Linked DNA regions of Homo sapiens: region 2 is linked to region 1. The links are contacts of gene promoters, found by promoter capture Hi-C in human tissues and cell types (Jung and others, 2019). All regions are on one chromosome and are shown on one strand. Each heading gives the region's core, a stretch centred on a gene start or on the middle of the fragment in contact. The rest is flanking DNA. Distances are from core to core; before and after follow the strand shown. Region 1 holds the start of DNAH10OS (dynein axonemal heavy chain 10 opposite strand). Region 2 overlaps DNAH10 (dynein axonemal heavy chain 10).

The links. Contacts are between HindIII fragments. The study calls those that stand out against the background at their distance.
Region 2: a fragment that was not itself captured here is called in contact with the fragment with the promoter of DNAH10OS in region 1 in 2 of the 25 tissues and cell types used here (lymphoblastoid cells and mesenchymal stem cells).

The regions. Positions count from the first base shown.
Region 1 is chr12:123,933,669-123,936,373 of GRCh38, forward strand. DNAH10OS (dynein axonemal heavy chain 10 opposite strand) reads right to left here and starts at 1,316. Exons shown (of 2, transcript NR_187476.1): 1 at 397-1,316. It overlaps DNAH10 (dynein axonemal heavy chain 10), which reads left to right. Exons shown (of 79, transcript NM_001372106.1): 78 at 953-1,098; 79 at 1,667-2,046. The coding sequence ends at 1,813. CCDC92 (coiled-coil domain containing 92) reads right to left here. Exons shown (of 5, transcript NM_025140.3): 5 at 1,958-2,705. The HindIII fragment of the contact is 2,982 bases long and covers 272-2,705 here.
Region 2 is chr12:123,821,234-123,823,933 of GRCh38, forward strand. All of the region lies in intron 24 of DNAH10 (dynein axonemal heavy chain 10), which reads left to right. Among named protein-coding and RNA genes, the nearest start is that of DNAH10, 60 kb to the left of the region's middle. The HindIII fragment of the contact is 5,209 bases long and covers 1-2,700 here.

The sequences.
Region 1 (2,705 bases), core at 66-2,565:
CCATGTCTTAACACCTCTGAGGGTGGATACGGAAGTTTCTCTTCCACTTTCTCCGTTGAGACCTGGGGTCTATGGCAGGGGAGACCTGAACCATGTTCACTCTGCTAGCTCATGGCAAGTGGGCTCCTAGGTCAGAATTAGCTCTTGCAAAAACCATCAGGTGGCTTTCTTGTAACCCCTGACGGGGCCAGGGGCATGGGAGCCACAGAGCAGCATGGACTAACTTGGTTGGAACTCTTTGATTATGCCAGAACTTCAGGTCCCTTAGACATTGGTTACTGACTGTGCAAATGAGAGCTGGAAACTGCTGTTTCCCCGGGTCCATGTTGTCTTAGAGTTCTTTTAACTGCAAGGAACAAAAGCTCTTTTGAGATGGCTTAAGGACTGGGGACTTACGGTAAAGATGCAGGGACTCTCCAGGTCTCAGTGGCAGGGGAGGTGGCAGGTGTCCGGGCCACCACTCTCTCTGGGGCCACAGGAGTGTGTTCCTCTCTTTGCACATCTGCTGGGTCCTCCTCCCCGGAGACCACTTTCTCTGTGAGGCTTCGACTTCCTGCTCCCCAGCCACTTCGGCTCACAGGGTAGCTGGGGTTGCCATGGTGCCCATTCTGACTCTGGGACCATGCATCTTTCTAGCCTGGGGGCCCAGGGTGGTCTAAGTCCGTGGGCCTTGATGCCCCAGGAATGAGGATTCCTGGGGGAGAGGCCACCGCCCCACACCCATTTCTCTGGGCCATGGGGCAGGGCCACAGGGTCTCCTGTCTGGGCTGCTCCTCCACAGAGGGAAGGTGGGCAGGACAGAAATGCTGGAGAAGGGCCTGGGCTGTCCCCAATGCGCTGGGGAGGAGGCCAGCCAGTGGCCTGTGTGTCGCTGTGTGTGCGCCTGATAGAGCCACTCCGTGGCAGGCTGTGCATGCTCCAGTTGTATCCAGTCTCTGCCTTGTGTCCCTAGGATGCTTTGTCTCAGGACTGTACCTGGAAGGTGCTGACTGGGATATAGAAAAAGGATGTCTTATCAAGAGCAAACCCAAGGTGCTGGTTGTGGACCTGCCGATCCTGAAGATCATCCCCATTGAAGCCCATCGCCTCAAGCTGCAGGTGAAGGTCCCAGCCCCTCCTCTCTGACACCAGGGCCCTTCCTCTTCTGACTGTAGTTATGGCTGAGGTGGTTTCCAACAGTCCTACTTTTTAAAACAGGGGTGCCTAAGCTTTATGGGCTGGGGAGAGTCTTGGAGCCGTGATAAAAGCTACGGATAGCTGCTTCCTGGAAAAGGCGCGGCTGTATGTGTGTGTGGATGCCGGTCCTTCCAGAGGTGTCAGGCTCAAGCTGTGATCCTGTGGTCTAGACTAACCAAGGGGAGACTCCCTCCCTTCTTGCAAAATGCTGCAGACATTGCCTGAGTCATAAAGTGGTTCCCGCTGGTGTGGACAGCAGATGTCTTCTGCTCTGCCTGGGCCAGGACCCACTTTTAACCAGGGTGTCAGTGTGAAGCCAGGTCCCCGTGAAGCTGGCGGAGGGTGGCCCTGAGCAGCCCCAGCCTTGTGCGTGTTCTCAGGTGCAGTCTTGCACAGGGGCCCCTGCCTGTCAAGACTTACACTGCACCTCTGCCTTTATCCCTCTGCACCCTCTCTCCGTGGGGGCATCTCACCTGCCTTTCCCTTGCAGAATACTTTCCGGACCCCCGTCTACACCACCTCCATGAGAAGGAACGCCATGGGAGTCGGCTTGGTTTTTGAAGCTGATCTCTTTACCACGAGGCACATTTCTCACTGGGTGCTGCAAGGAGTATGCCTCACCCTGAATTCTGATTAACCTTTGGGTGAAGAAAACTGCTTAATGAATTCGGAGCCTGGGGTTGTCAGAGTGATCGGGTCTGCTGTCATTTCTTGGGGCCTCTCAAGAGGCAGGAGGGGGACTGACACTGATTTTTCATTTGAAATCAGCCACTTAAATCTCTTTCCATACAAATTAACCTGAATGGTTTTGTTTTTAATACTACTTTTTAAAAGGAATTTATATAATCAAAAAGTAAATATTGGAGAGTATTTTAAGATGTGTGGAGTTTTCTTTTCCTTCTCAGAGAAAACACTTGATTAGGCAAAAGTGCCTGGCATACATAGCATTGGCACAAGTGAGAATCCTAATGTAATTTCCAAAGGTGTGTTTTCGATGATCCAGGTCTGTTTCAGCAGATGCTCCTTTTTGGCAAGAAGGGCTGATGATGTCGGGCACAGAGCAGAAGTGACCAGTCACCTGGAGCCACTTCTCCCCCTTCCAGAACTCTCTGGCCCTAGCTTCTTTGGCTCTGACCTGCTACGGCGACTGTGAAGTTGTTGAGCTTAGTGTTTAGTTCCTGCATGAGCTTCTACCCCCAGCCTGCCTGGGTCTGTGTGGGGTCAGGTAAGGACACAGAACCTCCAGGACCAGTGGTCACTGGGCACCCCTTCCCTCTGTGCACCATGAGGCTGGCCTGGAGCCCTGGCTGGCCACCTGGAGGTGAGGGGTGGCTTCACTCCATGAGGGAGGAGAGGGGCTAGCACGGGCAGCACAGTGGGCAGGGGCCATCAGAGGCAAAAGCAGCTTCCCACAGAAGCTCAGGAGCGCAGCACATTCTAAGGACTAGCTCTGGGCCGGGAGGAGGCCGGAGTCGCTTCTGGGACCTGTGATTGCTCTCCCTCCTGCAGTCTCCTAGCCCTCCTTCAGG
Region 2 (2,700 bases), core at 24-2,523, 110 kb before region 1:
GAGCGAAACTCCATCTCAAAAAAAAAAAAAGTTCTGGAAATAGATAGTGGCGCTGGCTGTGTGACATTGTGAAAGTACTTGATGCCACGGAATTGTACATTTTATTTTTATTTTTGAGACAAAGTCTCGCTCTAACACCCAAGCTGGGGTGCAGTGGTGTGATAATAACTCACTGCAGCCTCGAAGTCCTGGGTCGAAGTGATCCTTCTGCCTCAGCCTGCAAAGCAGTTGGGACTACAGAGGTGCACCACCATGCCCAGCTATTCTTTTTTTAGTTTTAGTAGAGGCAATGTCTCACTGTGTTACCCAGGCTGGTCTGGAACTCCTGATCTCAAGCGATCCTCCTGCCTTGACCTCCCAAAGTGCTGGGATTACAGGCATGAGCCATTGCACCCAGCCTGGAATTACATATTTTAAAATGATTAAAATGACAATTTTTTTTTTATGTATTTTACTGTCATCATAGAAAAGAACTCTCTTTGGAGGTCAAGGGCTTGGTTAAGGCATGGGGTAAACTGTTTAGTTGCAAGCGGAGATTAAAAGTTGCCGTGTCAGCCTGGTGTGGTGGCTCATGCTTGTAATCCCAGCACTTTGGGAGGCTGAGATGGGCAGATTACTTGAGGCCAGGAGTTCGAGACTAGCCTGGGCAACAAGGCGAAACCCCGTTTCTACTAAAAAATACAAAAAAAAGTTCCGGGCACAGTGGCTCACACCTGTAATCCCAGCACTTTGGGAGGCAAGGCGGGTGGATCACTTGAGGCCAGGAGTTCGAGACTAGCCTGGCCAACATGGCAAAACTCCATTTCTACTAAGAAATACAAAACTTAGCCAGATATGGTGGCACATGCCTGTGATCCCAGCTGCTTGGGAGGCTAAGGCACAAGAATCGCTTGAACCCAGGAGGTGGAGGTTGCGGTGAGCTGAGATTGCGCCACTGCACTCCAGCCTGGGTGACAGAGTGAGACTCTGTCTCAAAAAATAAAAATAAAAAAGTTGCAAATGTCATGTCATTTGGGTGCCTCTCATTGGTATGTTTCCCATGCAAATTCATGCTATTCATTCATTTATCTATTGACTTAGTTCTTTATAGCTCAGTGCTGTGCTGGTTGGAGTGTGGGGTCCAGAAAAGGAGTCATGTTTGCCCGTTCCTGCCCTTCTTGAGTCCCCAAGGGAGACTGACTATGTTAGTCTGGGTTCTTGAGAAACAGAATCAATAGGAGATATGTGTATCTATATCTATATCTGTCTATATCTAATCTGTATCTATAACCTGTATCTATACCTGTATCTATATCTAATCTACATCTGTATTACATTATCTAATCTATATCTATCTGTATCTAATCTACATATCTATTTCTAATCTATATCTAATGTATATCTATATATCTGTGTCTAATCTATACCTATATCTATGAGATTTGTGATGAGGAATTGGCTCCTGTGATTATGGAGGCTGAGAAATCCCATGGTCTGCAGTTGGCAAGCTAGAGACCCTGGAGAGCTGATGGTATAGATTCTAGTCTGAGTCCAAGTCCGAATGCGGGAGAACACTGACGTCCCAGCTTGAAGACAGTCAGGCACAGAGGTTGCATTCCACCTTCCTCAGCCTTTTGTTCGATTCAGGCCTGCAGTGGATTGAGTGAGGCCATCCATGTTGGGGAGGGCCACCTGCTTTACTCAGTCCCCCAATGCAAACGCTCATCTCACTCAGTATCTCTCACAAAACACCAGCGTCCACTTGACACACAGGATTCACCTTTGCACCGATATGTGAACAAATAACCACGCCCCCAAGATATGTGCTGGAAATGAGGTGGACAGAGTCCTGAGCTTGCAGAGGAGGAAGGAGAGTGGCCCACTGGCCCAGGGAATGCTGCTGAGGAGGTGGCCTGGGAGTGAGGCTCAGAACCAGAGCAGGCTTTTGCCTGGTGCAGAACAAGGCTTTCCAGGCAGAGCGCTGGGCAGGAGCAGAGACAGGAGATTTGAAGTTGTGTCTTGTGTCCATAACCTTTCATCCAGACTGGTGGCTTTACCAACCATGGATGCACCAGGAAATGGGGTTGGGATGTGCGAAGCGGCCGGTGGAGATGAAGCCGTGAGAAGGGACTCCGGAGGCAGCCGGGGGATTGCAGGCAGGGGGTCCTTTAGGAGGTCACTGCCCCAGTGCTGGCAGAAGGGATGGGAGCTTGCATTTTAGGACAATTATAGAGGGAATAGAGAGGAGAGAAGATTCCAGAGATGGGGTGGAAAGTGATGAGACCTGGTGCCTGCACCAGGCAAAAAATTCATAAAGTTAAAAACATACCGTCAGCTTTTAAAAGGAAAGGTATCATGAGAACTGAGAACAACCACACACATGTCAAAATAAGTGGTTTTAAAATGTTTAATTTTTCTGGGTTCATAGTAGGTGTCTATATGGGATACATAGATGTTTTGACACGGGCATGCAATGTGTAATAATCACATCACGGGGAATGGGATGTCCATCCCCTCAAGCTTTTATCCTTTGTGTTACAAACAATCCAATTATGCTCCTTTAGTTATTTAAAAATATACAATTTTTATTGACTATAGTCACCCTGCCATGCTATCAAATACTAGGTCTTATTCATTCTTTCTGGTTTTTTTTTCTGTAGCAAAATAAGCATTTTTAAAAATCCAATATTGAGACATAGCTTGGTCCCCCCAGCCTACTCT